Regions from separate parts of the Homo sapiens genome. Here regions 1 and 3 are each linked to region 2. The links are contacts of gene promoters, found by promoter capture Hi-C in blood cells and fetal thymus (Javierre and others, 2016). All regions are on one chromosome and are shown on one strand. Each heading gives the region's core, a stretch centred on a gene start or on the middle of the fragment in contact. The rest is flanking DNA. Distances are from core to core; before and after follow the strand shown.

The links. Contacts are between HindIII fragments. The CHiCAGO score rates a contact against its expected background, and 5 or more counts as called.
Region 1: the fragment with the promoter of RXFP4 here is called in contact with the fragment with the promoter of DPM3 in region 2 in 2 of 17 cell types (neutrophils and monocytes); the score reaches 5.3 in neutrophils.
Region 3: a contact is called between the fragment with the promoter of UBE2Q1 here and the fragment with the promoter of DPM3 in region 2, in 5 of 17 cell types (neutrophils, total B cells, fetal thymus and 2 more). The highest score is 12.7, in neutrophils.

The regions. Positions count from the first base shown.
Region 1 is chr1:155,938,478-155,943,415 of GRCh38, forward strand. It overlaps RXFP4 (relaxin family peptide/INSL5 receptor 4), which reads left to right and starts at 3,161. Exons shown (of 1, transcript NM_181885.3): 1 at 3,161-4,610. The coding sequence starts at 3,233. The coding sequence ends at 4,357. RefSeq lists a silencer at 2,601-2,895 and an enhancer at 3,215-3,714. The HindIII fragment of the contact is 9,136 bases long and covers 1-4,542 here.
Region 2 is chr1:155,139,071-155,143,804 of GRCh38, forward strand. DPM3 (dolichyl-phosphate mannosyltransferase subunit 3, regulatory) reads right to left here and starts at 1,461. Exons shown (of 2, transcript NM_153741.2): 1 at 1,421-1,461; 2 at 821-1,175. The coding sequence starts at 1,170. The coding sequence ends at 892. RefSeq lists enhancers at 1,401-1,530, 1,701-1,760. The HindIII fragment of the contact is 26,354 bases long and covers 1-4,734 here.
Region 3 is chr1:154,554,960-154,560,026 of GRCh38, forward strand. It overlaps UBE2Q1 (ubiquitin conjugating enzyme E2 Q1), which reads right to left and starts at 3,703. Exons shown (of 13, transcript NM_017582.7): 1 at 3,268-3,703; 2 at 901-1,005; 3 at 469-573. The coding sequence starts at 3,594. It overlaps UBE2Q1-AS1 (UBE2Q1 antisense RNA 1), which reads left to right. Exons shown (of 2, transcript NR_046668.1): 2 at 1-69. RefSeq lists silencers at 3,298-3,397, 3,718-3,797, 3,888-3,977, 4,098-4,187 and enhancers at 3,557-4,138, 4,139-4,719. The HindIII fragment of the contact is 10,457 bases long and covers 1,896-5,067 here.

The sequences.
Region 1 (4,938 bases), core at 1,911-4,410, 800 kb after region 2:
GAAAAGATGGAGGGTGGGCTTTCTCAGTGTCTCCAGTATTCACCACATCACCCCAGGGGTACTACCTCAAGCATTTATTGAATAATTTTTCCAAACAAGGAGATTTCCTGTGAGGGATTCTGATGTCACCTCTAAAAATAGTTTTAGAAATATTTTTCCACTTTCTTACAAGGGGAAATCTATCAAAAAGAATAATGGAGCAGCTATTCAAAAAGAATAATGGAGCAGCTATTCAAAAAGAATTAGAGTGTATAGCCCCATTTCTAGCCCCTATGAGGCCTGGCTATACTTTGTGCCATGTGCTTGGATTGCCATGAGGTTACCCAGTGTTTTTTTGTTTTTTGTGGGTTTTTTTTTTTTTTTGAGACGGGGGTCTCACTCTGTCACCCAGGCTGGAGTGCGGTGGCATGATCACAGCTCACTCCAGCTTTGACCTCCCAGTCTCAGGTGATCCTCCCACATCACAGGTGCCCGCCACCACGCCCAGCTAATTTTTTGTTGTTGTTGTTTTGTATTTTTAGTAGAGTAGCTGGAACCAAGTAGCTGGAACCACAGGCATGAACCACCATGCCTGGCTAATTTTTTGTTATCTTTTGTAGAGATGGGGTTTTGCCATGTTGCCCAGACTGGTCTTGAATTACTGGGCTCAAGCAATCCATTCGCCTCAGCCTCCCAAAGTGTCACCATGACCAGCTGATTTTTTTTTTTTTTTTTTTTTGAGACGGAGTCTCACTCTGTCGCCCAGGCTGGAGTGCAGTGGCACGATCTCGGCTCACTGCAAGCTCCACCTCCCGGGTTCATACCATTCTCCTGCCTCAGCCTCCCGAGTAGCTGGGACTACAGGCACCTGCCACCACACCCGGCTAATTTTTGTATTTTTTTTTTTTAGAGATGGGGTTTCACCATGTTAGCCAGGATGGTCTCGATCTCCTGACATGCCTGTAATCCCAGCACTTTGGGAGGCCAAGGCAGGAGGATCACCTGAGGTCATTTCAAGAATATTTTTGATGCTAGGCGTGGTGGCTTATGGCTGTAATCCCAGCACTTTGGGAGGGTGAGGTGAGAGGGTTGCTTGAGCCCAGGAGTTCAAGACAATCCTGGGCAACATAGGGATACCCCATCTCTCCTAAAAATACAAAAATTAGCCTGTGTGGTAGCACATTCCTGTGGCTGAGGTAGGAGGATCACCTGAGCCTGGGGAGGTCGAGGCACTGAGCCAAGATTGTGCCACTGCACTCCAGCCTGGGTGACAGAGTGAGACCTCTTCTCAACCAAAAAAAAAAGAAAAAAAGAAAAAAAATTTTTTTTTTTTTTTGAGATGGAGTCTCGCTCTGTCGCCCAGGCTGGAGTGCAGTGGTGTGATCTCAGCTCACCAAAATCTCTGCCTCCCGGGTTCAAGTGATTCTCCTGCCTCAGCCTCCCGAGTAGCTGTGATTACAGGCACTCGCCACCACGCGCCACTAATTTTGTATTTTTAGTAGAGACGGGCTTTCCCCATGTTGGTCAGGCTGGTCTTGAACTCCCGACCTCAGGTGATTCGCTCACCTCGGCCTCCCAAAGTGCTGGGATTACAGGCATGAGCCACCTCGTCTGGCCAAGCAGTTATCTTAATTGCCAGATTAGCAGGGTGATTCTGGGTGGGCAGAGGAGTAGACATGGCCCCGAGAGACAGTGATGACACAGTCACACAGGAGCAGCCATGAGGCCAGAAGGTAGCCTGTGGGGCTCACCTGACCTTGGGCTGGGCACTCCCCTTCTGCCACCCCCTTTATACTCATCCCTGGTTCGAAAGCCCCAACATGTTGGCACCCAGCCTGTATCACTCTCACCTCTGGGTTTCTCCTATGTGTTCACAAGCCCACTGCTGATTTATTGTCGCAAAGGGCCCCTCTCTTCCCTCAGCACTCCAAAGGAACTGAACATCGAACGTTATCTTAATTAGCTGGCAGAGGGCAAGAAGGGGCTGAATATATTGGAATCCTTGAGAAAGCCTTACTCTTTTACCTATCCACCTCCTGCCTTCTCTTTGTCCCCACCTCAGCTCCTTCTGCAGTAGGTAGAGATGTAGGCAATGAAAGGGGAGGGCCCAATGAAGCATTTTTTTTTTCCAGTTATGATTGAGATCATGGGGAGACAGGATGAGGTGTGGTGAGGGCGTATCTCAGGATCCTTAGCTCTGACATGGGGTTTGCAGGAGAGAGTAGGGGGACCGCTGAGCTCTGTCCACAGACTAGAGCAGGAAAGGGGGGAAAGGCGGCGATAGAGGTTAGCAGGAATGTTTAATTATCAGGAGCAGGAACAGAACTGAGGGCATGCCCAGGTCCACACAGGCCCTCATAGGCCCAGTGTTCCCAGTGGGGAGGAAACAGGAAGCTGTGACTTCCTCTCTCTTTTCCCTCCCTGCTCTTAGCCTCAAGGTCACTGCTGCTGAGATGAATTCCAACCTGTTTTAGTTGGCACTGTTCCCTGGGCATGGTAATAGCCTCTCAGTACCCTTCTGCCACAAACACCCCAAACTTCTCCTTTGAAATAATATTCATACAAATTGCTATTTCACATGTGTTCTCTCATTGCATCATGCCACTCCTGTGAAGCAGACTTACCTGAAAATTTTAAGCAAGAAAACAGGCTTAGGGGAGTAAAGTAACTCTCCCAGTCACACGGCTAGTGAGCAGCAGGTCTGGGACTCCGCAGCCTCCGCTCTTTCCTCTCTTGGACACCCATGCTGATTCCCTGCCTCTATGCCACCTCCCAGGCCCCTTGCTTTGGGCCCCAAGGGAACACTTTCTGCAGAGGAGGGAGGCCTCTGCACTGTTAGGAACAGAGGCAGCTCTAGTTTGGTTCCTGTCATCTCTGGGACAGGGAACCTCCAGCTCTCTCCCTGGGGTGGAGGCTTGGGGCTGCCCTCCATAGCGGGGTAACTCTCCCTTCTCCCCTCCCTCTCTGCCATTTAGAGCCCCTCTTACAGGCGGGCGCATGCACATATACCCTGGCATTCAGGCTGTGCCTCGCCCTGCCCCACCTACCACCAATCTTGACCAACAGGAAGGTGGTGGGTTGTCCTTTCCACACCCCTCCCTCTGAGGTGTGGGCGTGGGCCAGGGCTCACCAGAGGCCCCAGAGAAGCACTTAATTCTACAGCCTCCTTCCTAGAGCCTTCAGTGGCCTCTGCCAGTCTGGCAGACACTTGCAGACCTCTCTTCTCAGCACCACCAATCTCTGATGCCCTGCGATGCCCACACTCAATACTTCTGCCTCTCCACCCACATTCTTCTGGGCCAATGCCTCCGGAGGCAGTGTGCTGAGTGCTGATGATGCTCCGATGCCTGTCAAATTCCTAGCCCTGAGGCTCATGGTTGCCCTGGCCTATGGGCTTGTGGGGGCCATTGGCTTGCTGGGAAATTTGGCGGTGCTGTGGGTACTGAGTAACTGTGCCCGGAGAGCCCCTGGCCCACCTTCAGACACCTTCGTCTTCAACCTGGCTCTGGCGGACCTGGGACTGGCACTCACTCTCCCCTTTTGGGCAGCCGAGTCGGCACTGGACTTTCACTGGCCCTTCGGAGGTGCCCTCTGCAAGATGGTTCTGACGGCCACTGTCCTCAACGTCTATGCCAGCATCTTCCTCATCACAGCGCTGAGCGTTGCTCGCTACTGGGTGGTGGCCATGGCTGCGGGGCCAGGCACCCACCTCTCACTCTTCTGGGCCCGAATAGCCACCCTGGCAGTGTGGGCGGCGGCTGCCCTGGTGACGGTGCCCACAGCTGTCTTCGGGGTGGAGGGTGAGGTGTGTGGTGTGCGCCTTTGCCTGCTGCGTTTCCCCAGCAGGTACTGGCTGGGGGCCTACCAGCTGCAGAGGGTGGTGCTGGCTTTCATGGTGCCCTTGGGCGTCATCACCACCAGCTACCTGCTGCTGCTGGCCTTCCTGCAGCGGCGGCAACGGCGGCGGCAGGACAGCAGGGTCGTGGCCCGCTCTGTCCGCATCCTGGTGGCTTCCTTCTTCCTCTGCTGGTTTCCCAACCATGTGGTCACTCTCTGGGGTGTCCTGGTGAAGTTTGACCTGGTGCCCTGGAACAGTACTTTCTATACTATCCAGACGTATGTCTTCCCTGTCACTACTTGCTTGGCACACAGCAATAGCTGCCTCAACCCTGTGCTGTACTGTCTCCTGAGGCGGGAGCCCCGGCAGGCTCTGGCAGGCACCTTCAGGGATCTGCGGTTGAGGCTGTGGCCCCAGGGCGGAGGCTGGGTGCAACAGGTGGCCCTAAAGCAGGTAGGCAGGCGGTGGGTCGCAAGCAACCCCCGGGAGAGCCGCCCTTCTACCCTGCTCACCAACCTGGACAGAGGGACACCCGGGTGAAGGGCGCAAGCTGAACACACTCCTCTTTCTGAGATCCACCAAGTGTAGGATCCTTGAGTCCTGGGGAGAAGCTGCCCTCTCTGCCAGGCTGCAGTGCCCTCAGGGAAAAGTCTGATCTTTGATCCCCAACTCTGGGTGTGGTGAATGGGGGAGGCGGGGGCTCAGATCAGAGCTGGATGTGACAAAGCTTAAGTCTTTATTTGGAGATGGGAAAGAAGAGGATCTGAGAATAAACCTCTGGATTATCCACAAATTGTCTTGACCTTTTATCCCAGTTCCACCTCCAGTTCAGTATGGAACAAAAGGATTCGTTGCTCCATTTCTGCTTTCTGCAAGAATACCTAGGAAAACTTCCCTAAGGGTTCTAGGCTAATGAATCAGAGGTCAGTGCCCATCTCTCTCTGTACCCACCCCCCACCTCAAAACAGGGTATCCCTTGTCTTTCTCCGGTATCAAGGCCAAAAATGCCAGCTTCCCCTGTCCTCACCTTACCATCTCAGTGGTGACCACTGAAACTTGCTGCCTGCAGAGGCCTCAGCTGCAAAAGCTGTAGTTCCCTTGAAGGGATGCCAGGTGTGGGG
Region 2 (4,734 bases), core at 211-2,710:
GCTTATGTCTGTAATCACAGCACTTTGGGAGGCCCAGGCAGGAGGATCACTTGAGCCCAGGAGTTTGAGAACAGCCTGAGCAACACAGCGAGACCCTGTCACTACAAAAAATTAAACATTAGCCTGGTGGCGTGGTGGCATATGCCTGTAGTCCCAGCTACTCTGGAGGCTGAGGTGGGAGAACTGTTTGAGCCTGGGAGGGTGAGGCTGCAGTGAGCCATGATTGCACCACTGCACTCCAGCCTGGGCAACAGAGTGAGACCCTGTCTCAAAAAAAAAAAAAAAAAGAAGTAGTACGCCGGGCGCGGTGACTCACACCTGTAATCCCAGCACTTTGGGAGGCCGAGGCGGGCGGATTACGAGGTCAGGAGATCAGACCATCCTGGCCAACACGGTGAAACCCCGACTCTACTAAAAATACAAAAAATTAGCCAGGCGTGGTGGCAGGCGCCTGTAGTCCCAGCTACTCAGGAGGCTGAGGCAGGAGAATGGCGTGAACCCGGGAGGCGGAGCTTGCAGTGAGCCGAGATCACGCCACTGCACTCCAGCCTGGACGACAGAGCAAGGCTCCGTCTCAAAAAAAAAAAAAAAGAAGTACTTCCTACAGGGTTGAAAGGACCAGGAAAGTGAAATGTCATTTCCATCCTGAGAAATATTGAGAAGGGGTCTTTGCCTCCTTGGGAGCAAAAATGGGAACACCAGCAAGATGCAAAGATAAAGGCTGAGATGGCCTCAAGAAGGTGGTTCTTTCACATTCACTTCTCGACCGTTAGTACATAGAATCCCCAATACCCGTTTTCCATACTCAAACTAAACGAAGTTAGAAAATAAACTGGCTCTTTAATGGGAAATGGGAGGAAGGGCTGTCCGCACAGGAATGGGGTTAGGCTGTCAGAAGCGCAGCCCCCTGCGGGCTAAGTCGGCTCGGGCCTCCTGTATCTGGCTCTGCAGCTCGCGTGCGGCGTCCTCGCAGTCATGAAAAGTGGCCACACGATAGCCCACAGTGCCCAGGGCATAGCAGCCGGCGGACACCAGCAAGTAGGCGGGCAGTGGCCACAGGACTTCCTGGCAGGACAAGGGCAGCTCCAGGCCCAAGGCTCCCGTGGTCAGGGCCACCCAGGTGGAGCCCAGGATCGCTAGTCCCCAAAGCCACTGCGCTAATTTCGTCATGGTCACTGCGAGAGAAGGAAGCAATGCTCCCCTGAGGAGCAGAAAGGAAAAGCGGACCAAACTCAACCGAAGCCCGCCCACGGAGAGCATTAAAACCAGCCCTGGCCAGAGGGGAATCGCCGATCCCAGAGGTCCGAACTTGAGTGCCCACAAAAGGTGGAAGGGCCCCTTCCACCTTGCTACCCCCTCTATATTTGAGACCCACTCCCCATCTCTCGCCCTCCCCATTCAGCCTTCAACCTACACTTACCTCTACCCCACGTCTCCCCTTCCCCGCGCGGCCCGGATGTTGGCGTCCGGAAGTCCTCCCTGGTTCACGTTCCGCTTCCGCGCGGCCTTCTGGGAGTTGTAGTTCACATGGCGGCGCCTGGTGTACTCCTGGCCAGCGCCTCAATCTAGGCGGGGGTACAGTGGGCTGTGCTCCGCAAACGGGGAGCAGGCCGGGTCTGGAGAGGCCTCGGCGCTGCTTTCCCACCTTGGGCTACGCTCCAGGCTGGCGTGGGGCTTGAGGACATCCTTAAATGTTGCAACAAGATGGGAATATAATACCATTCCCCTTAAACTCAATTCTCCAGCGCTGAAATCCATTCCTTCATTCACTAGTTCATTCATTCGAAGATTTCTTTCTTTCCATTCTTGACAGGGTCTCTCTATAGTGCCTAGGCGGGACAGAACTCCTTTTTTTTTTTTTTTTTTTTTTTTTTTTTTTTGAGACAAAGTCTCGCTCTGTTGCCCATGCTGGAGTACAGTGGCTCGATCTCAGCTCACTGCAACCTCTGTCTCCCGAGCAGCTGGGATTACAGGCGCGCGCCACCACGCCGGGCTAATTTTTTTATTTTTAGCAGAGAACGGGGATTTCACTATGTTGGCCAGGCTGGTCTCAAACTCCTGACCTCAAGTGACTGGCCCACCTCAGCCTTCCAAAGTGCTAGGATTACAGGCATGAGCCACAGCGCCCGGCCAGAACATTTCTTGATTACCATGATAGACTTTGGAGATACAGAGATGTCAAGAGACTCGACCCCTTTCAGGTGGAGGGGGAAAGCAGGAGTCAGTGAAGCAGTTGCATTGACAACTAACCATGAAGGCTTGAGATTATTGTTAGAACAGAGGTAGTCATATTTTTACAAGGACAACAACCAATATAACTTGGAGCCAGAGGAAGAAGGGCTCCAGGAGTCTGGGTTTCAAAAAAAAAGAAAAGAAAAGAAAGACCAGAAGAATTACCTGAAGTGGTGAAGGCATTGAAAGAAAGAGTATAATTCTTTAGAACAGTTTTGGGGATGAATTTATTATGTATAGAGAGAAAGAGAGAGAGAGAACAAAGTAAGAGAAAAGGTTAGGCAATTATCAACTTCAGAGGAAACAAAGAGTTATATAAGAAAGGAAAGACAATTGATAAGCCTGTCTTATAAAGACCACATCTGTAGTTTGACAGTTAGGTTTATTAACTTGCCACAACAGAGAGATCACACACTAGAAGAACTGTGGGGCAACTCATTAAAAAGGAAGAAATATGGTCATTCAGATGATATGGTTTGGCTGTGTCCCCACCCAAATTTCAAGTTGATGTGTATCTCCCAGAATTCCCACGTGCGAGGGACCTAAGGGGAGGTAATTGAATCACGGGGGCCAGACTTTCCCGTGCTATTTTCATGATAGTGAATAAGTCTCACAAGATCTGATGAGTTCATCAGGGGTTTCTGCTTTTGCTTCTTCCTCATTTTTCTCTTGCCACCGCCATGTAAGAAGTGCCTTTGTCTCCCGCCATGATTCTGAGGCCTCCCCAGCAATGTGGAACTGTAAGTCCAATTAAACCTCTTTTTGTTTGCAGTTTCGGGTATGTCTTTATCAGTAATGTGAAAATGAACTAATACAACAGGATATGGGAAAGGCTTGACTTTAAAATTTATATTTTAAAATTTATTTACTTATTTATTTAGAGTTGAAGTCTCGGTATGTTGCCCAGGCGAAGCTCAAACTTCTGGGCTCAAGTGATCCTCCTGCCTCAGCCTCCCAAGTGGCTGATACTATAGGCTAGCTAAAATTTAAATGAAACAGTGTTTTGATCGGTTCGAGGTAAGCATAACTTTAAGTGAAGGGATCAAGAAGTCCAAGCTGAGGGACCACTTGGAAATTACAAAGTCAAGATAAATATAGAATATAGTGTCCAAAAACCCACTATCTAGGCTGGGCACAGTGGCTCGTGCCTGTAATCCCAACACTTTGGGAGGCCAAAGTAATCCACGTGGCTCAGAACTTCTGGCAAGAGTAGGATGTTCCATTCGCACTGACTGATTTCAAATAGCAAAGTTTGTGACTATGATTTTAGAAAATGAAGTTTCTCAGCCGTATGTCCTGGATGTTAATTAACAAAAGCAGTTTTTACAGATTCACAGTCTTAGCACAAACACAAATGGCTCAGCTGTGAAGAAAATTTTCACAGCCGTAACGATGTAAACACTAAGTATTGATTTAACTAAAAATTGGAGCTGGGGACAGTGGAGCTGTGATCCCAGAACTTTGGGAGGCCTAGGTGGGAGTGTTGCTTGAAGAAATGTACAGATAAGTACCAGAAGAAGCAGCCTAGAAACTGGAGCGTAGTTGTATATGTAGGTTGTATATGTAAGGGTTAAAGAAGAGGAGCAGGGGATGGTTATTTTTCATTAAAAGCCTTGTAGAGTTACAGCTCTTTTTTTTTCTATTCTTTTTCTTTTTTTCAGACAAGGTCTTGCTCTGTTGCCCAGGGTGGAGAGCAGCGGTGCAAACATGGCTTACTGCAGCCTCGACCTCCTGGACTCAAGCTATCCTCCCACCTCAGACTCTGGAGTAGCAGGGACTACAGAAGTGGGCCACCACCACCACGCCCATCTAGTGTGTGTGTGTGTGTGTGTGTGTGTGTGTGTGTGTGTGTGTGTGTAGACGGGGTCTCCCTATGTTGCCCAGGCTGGTCTCAAAATCCTGGGCTCAAGCAATTCATCTCAGCCCCCACAAAGTGCTGCTATTGCAGTCGTAAGCCACGGCGCCCACCGAAGTTACAGCTTTCAGAATTTGTTGAGCAGGTTTCCCGGTTTTCACTTGAAAATGCCCCGCCACCCCGAAAAATATTTGTTGAACTAGTTGGCTTTTAAAACTATACAAATTCCTTTGTTAAAGTAAAAATTAAAACAAATAAAAACTTTTCTTTTTTTTTTTGAGACAGAGTCTCGTTCTGTGGCCCAGGCTAGAGTACAGTGGCATGATCTCAGCTCACTGCAACCTCTGCCTCCCATGTTCAAGCGATTAGCCTGCCTCAACATCCCAAGTAGCTGGGACTACAGGCACGCACCACCACACCCAGCAAATCTTTGTATTTTTATTAAAGACAGGGTTTCACCATGTTGGTCAGGCTGGTCTCGAACTCCTGAGCTTGTGATCCTCCCACCTCGGACTCCCAAAGTGCTGGGATTACAGGCGTGAGCCACCGCGCTCAGCCCAAACTTTTTTTTTTTTTTTTTTTGAGCCGGAGTTTTGCTCTTGTCGCCGAGGTTGGGGTGAAATGACACGGTCTTGGCTCACTGCAAC
Region 3 (5,067 bases), core at 2,453-4,952, 580 kb before region 2:
TACCAGCCCATTATTTTTCGCCTATCACTGCCAAAGAATAAAAGAAAAGCAAAATGGCTGTCTCTGTCACCCACCTCCTAAATCCTAGTTTAATTCTCCTAAGAACCCCTCCTTTACTTGATCTTCTTTAGACTGATATTGCATTCTTGGTTCTCACCAAGGGGCCTGGGTCCCCAGTGGCCACCAACTGTTATTGCTAAGATAATGGTAAAAATTCCCCCGCTCCCTTTCAACATCTGGGATGCTGCCCATGAGAATGAATTTTGATATCAGAGATGAAGCTACCAGTGCCCCATTTAGCAAAAGAAGATTCCCATCTGGAGAAGAACGAGGGTGAGAGTCATAAGACGTGTATGTTTTTGGGAGCCGGTGGGGATGGAGAGAAACTACTGATTTGTCTCAATTATTTACTGAGTACCCTGTGGGGCAACTCTGCACAACAGGGCCCGAGGCTCCTCAGCTGCTCACCTGCTCTGCTGGCAAGGGTTGATCCAGCATCTCCACATCTGGATGCTGAGGGAGGTTATAGAGTTTACACAGGTCGGAGATGATCCTCTTCAGATGCTGCAATAGCTACAGGTAGGGGAGCACAGAGACATCAAATCCTTCCCCACTCCGATCTGGATAAGTGCATGGATGAGCTCTTAGTTTGGGCCCCACACCAATAACTAGTTCTCTAAGCCTTATGGGCCACGTGGCTGTGGGAATGAGTCTCCTGATGGACCAATCCCAGGGCCGATGCAGGGTCTCCCTCTGGCTTCAGTAAGCAACTCCCCCGAGAGGTCATCCCCTAAATGTTTAGCTGTGTACCGTCCACTTTTCAGGATCCCTTTCACAGGATGCCTTTGTGGCATGGGCCTCATAAGAACAAAATGTACCCCTACCCTGTGGCCCCCTCACCAGAGTATTCCCTTTCTTTATGTCCACCAGCCTCTCCAAGACAGCAGCCAAGTTAGGGTCATCAGACTCCACCGACCAGATGGGGGGCACAGCAGGGTATGACTCCTGAAGGGAAAAGAGCAATAAGAGCAATCAAAATGGGTGACTCTGGGAAAAGCCAGATTTTGCCTGTCCTCTTCCCCCCAAGACTTCTAGCCCCTTTGCTTCCCACCCCCACCCCCTACACACACATAAAAGCCCAACTTAGGTCAGCATCTAACCAAGCAGCTTCACAACAAATTCTAAACTGGAAGAAAAACAGTCCCTGGGAAGACCCTTTCCGAGAAGCAGACTGAAACCTTTTCTTTCTTTCCTCGAGAGTACAAACCAGGAAACCTAGCACAGCCAAACTTGGCTAACAGCGAAGGGGGACTCCTCATCTCCTGCACTGCCTATACAAGTTCTAGACTTCAAGTTCTCCCTGGACCCAGAACAGTCCTCCAAGCTTGCTTTTCAAACTCCAGAATCGGCTGAGGAAGGGATCACCTCATCACAATGACACTGAAGTGAAAAAAGCAGAGTTCAGTAGGGAAGAAGTATAAAAACTAGACTGTATCTCCAGAACCCAAGAGTAAAAGGGTACTGGCAAGAATCTACCCACACCACTTCCAGAAGAGCCCCTCAAAGACCAATTCTCCCCACCTCTCCCTTGGGAACCTGCCACCTTCTCAGTCCAGGCGTGGGCTGTAGGGCTCCACATGGCAGGCTGGGAGAAAGAAGCCTACGCTACTGACATTCCCAGCATTCCTGAGCCACGGTGCCAAATGCAGCCTGACCAGACTCCCTCTCTGCCCAAACCAAGGGGGCTAGTTTAGGCCAAGTCTCCTTTATAGCCATGGGGAGTCTGGCTGAGGACCCCCTAAATTTAACTTCCTGCCAGGGACAAACGCAGTAAATGGCCTCTGGCAACAGAAAGAGCAGCTGGATAGGGGCAAACCTACCCTTAAGGAATTAGAAGCTTAATTCAGGAACAAAATTAACTCGAGGTTCCCACACAAGCCAGGGAAACCTTATCCACCTCTACTGGGTATCTTAGCATTGCCATGACTCTAATCCTCAATGCTGGAGGAAAAATAATTATCAAAGATGCCCAAGTCTTCACTTAACTAAGCCACTCCTAGTCCTTCAATTTTAACTTTCTAGCAGGAAAAAAGAAAGGAAATGAAAAGAGAAATGGGACATATGAGTTTTGGTGGGGCACCAATCAATCCAAACTGAGGCTTTACCTCACCAAATCTTAACTTGGTTTGATTGAGAAAACGGACAGAAAACACCAGTAAGTTGAATTCAGGCCCCCAAGTAGCAGAGAATTCACAACTCTGCCTTTCCCCAGGCTACTCCGATTAGGTCTGCCTGCCTGGATAAAGTACTGTCTGCTAGCATTTCAGCTACTGCTCCGGTAGAGAGAATACCATCACAGCAGGTAACATCAACCAATATAAGTGCTATAGCATGCAGTACCAGACATTCCCAAATTAGCAGAAGCCAATTCTCTGTTCAAGGGATGTCTGAGGGTAGACCAGGCAGGAGACATGTAAGGTGTATGCCTAGGATGGAATGACGCTCACAGGGGAGAAATGCAACTGTTACTGCTTAGAATAAATGGGGGTAGCCCTCGCACATCACATCACTATCATTACCAGGAAAAGCAACAACCCAGGGCAAATGGACATATCCATAGGGAACAGGCAGGGGAGTGGCAGAACTGCTACCAGCTGAGGCAAAAAGAGGAGAGTTAGAGGTTACACCAGAAAAAGAATCCAAAGGAGAGAAGGAAGAGGAGTCAATGAATTGCAAACTATCACTTGGTGAAGTTGAGAGAGCAAGAGGGTCTGCATGAGGGATGCCTAGGCGGGGATCCCACAGGTGGCAACCTCCTAAGTCAGAGGTACTACTGAGAAGGGGGCATCGCTGAAATGTGCAGTGAGTTTCAGGCCAGGTCTTTGCAGTTAGGGTCAGTGCCGAGGCCTAAAACCTTGAAATAAGAGTAAGGGGAAGAAAGACGCATTCCTAGGTGGCAAGGTAAAGTTGTGGAGGAGTAGCCAAAAAGAGCCAAAATCATGAACCTTGGGATGTGGGTGGGTTCGTGGAAACGGGTAGTCTAGGCGCCATATGTCGGGGTGTCCCTTGCTATTGGGGTCAATGGTAGAGATTCTGGGTGCACTGCATAACCTCAAGCAGCAGAAACAAATGTAACCTGGAGAGAAAGAACTGAGCCCTGAGAGGGGCTTCGGCCTCCCAGGTCCTTCGAGAGCAAAAAGCTGGATGGAGTGATCCTGGGTCCCTGACAAGGGGCCCCCACAGAGGCGCACGCGAGGGGGTCCTCACCGTGATGTTGCAGTGGATGCGGACAGGATCCCCAGGCACCGACCCCCGTGGGGGGAGATGCGGTCCGGGCGCGGCCCCCGCCCCGGCCCCTCCGGCCCCAGCCAGCAGGAACTCGCAGCTCAGCTCGTCCAGGCAGGCGCTGGCAATGCGGAAGCGCTCGTGGCCGCGGTGGAAGATGGACTCGAGCAGCTTCAGCTCTCGCCTCAGGCAGGGCCCCGGCCCCGGGCCCCCCCCTGGGCCGCCCCCGGCCCCCGGCGCCGCCCCCTGGCCCCCCAGCTGCTGCCCCGGCCCCGGCTGCTGCTGCCCCTGCGGCTGCGGCTGCTGCATCCTCCGCTCCGCTCCGCTCCGGGGCCGGCGGGCCGGGAGCCTCCGGCCTGCGCTCCGGGCTCCGCCGCCGCCGCCGCCGCCGCCGCCGCCGCCGCGGTCCGCACTTCCTGATCCCCCCTTCGCCAAGATGGCGCCGCCGCCACCTCCGGGACAGGCCCCCCCCTCCGCTCGCTGGCCCCCCCAGCCGCCGGAAGCCGCGCGCCCCTCCTCCTCCTCCTCCTCCTAGGCGGCCCCGCCTCCGTCCCCCTCACGTGACTTCCCTGCTCTGGCCTCCTCCACGTGATCTCTCCGTCTTTCCCGCCCCCCTGTTCTCGCCTGCCACCCTCCACATGTGACCCGGGGCCTGGGGCTTGCCTCTGTGGGCGCCTCAGTGCGAGTTTGCGTATGTCGTGCGTGCTTGCGCGCGACGCCCCTTCGCCTGCGCTCCCCTCTCACGTGACTCGGTGCCGCGTGCTCCCAGGGGCTACCCGCGCAGGACGCTGTTTCCTGCCCCGGGCGCCGCTTCCCCCGCCCCCGAGCCGTGGCGAGCGTGCCCGGCACTCCATGGACAGAGAAGAAAGAAGTGCTGTCTTCCCCGTGCAGTCTTTATCCTGCTCCCACATGCTGGTCTTCGGCGCAGGATCCTGGAGCCTCTGCTCCCCGTGGGGGTGGGCATGCTGTGTCTTCACACTCGGGTGGGTGGTCGGGGTAGGAGCCGGGAACCGGAATGGAAGAGGCGTGGATTCTCGTCCCAGCCCTGGCTCTCATGGCGTTTTGTGACCTTGGGTTAACCACTTTCCCGCCGAGTCTCAGTTTCCTCATCTGTACAATGGCTCTCATGAGAATGATGCCTGTTTTTCCTATTCCCAGGGAGGGATTCGATGCGAGGACACCATAAAATGAGGAATGATAATAGATCACTGCTGTGTTATGTACAAGTGTTAGTTAATATCAGGCCTTTCGCGCTTTTCAGACCCCATGGGTCTGGACGAGGTTGGGGGAAGGACAGCATGGGCTTCCTCCACAGAGTCATGGAAGGAGTGCTGACTCGGGTGGTCCCCATTCCCTTTCCTAGGCCTAAATGGCTAACACCTTGTCGCAGTGGTCTTGGCAGCTGCCAGGAGTAGGTAGTGCCTCCGGACCCTCGCTAGGTGGCACTATCACAAAGGACAAAGCTGGTTGAAGCTACAGAAATCCCGAGCTGGCGTTCGTTTTGCCAAGGGCAAGTGTTATTAGCCTGTGGTAAGGCCTAGTCAATTCTGCTGGGCCAACTCAGCCCTTAAACCACTGGTCAGATTGCCCCGTTTCTCTCCCACTTGTACTAAAATGAGCTAGCCTTTGCTGGAAGACTATTCAATTGCCTCTGCAGAGGCCTCCTTTGGTCAAGTTGGGGTATGGGTATTTAAAGACGATTATAGTCTGTTCCTGGTCTTCGTGGGGCCATTTATCTGGTTTAGGTAGCCTGAACAGTTTGCTACATGTTGACTTTGTGTC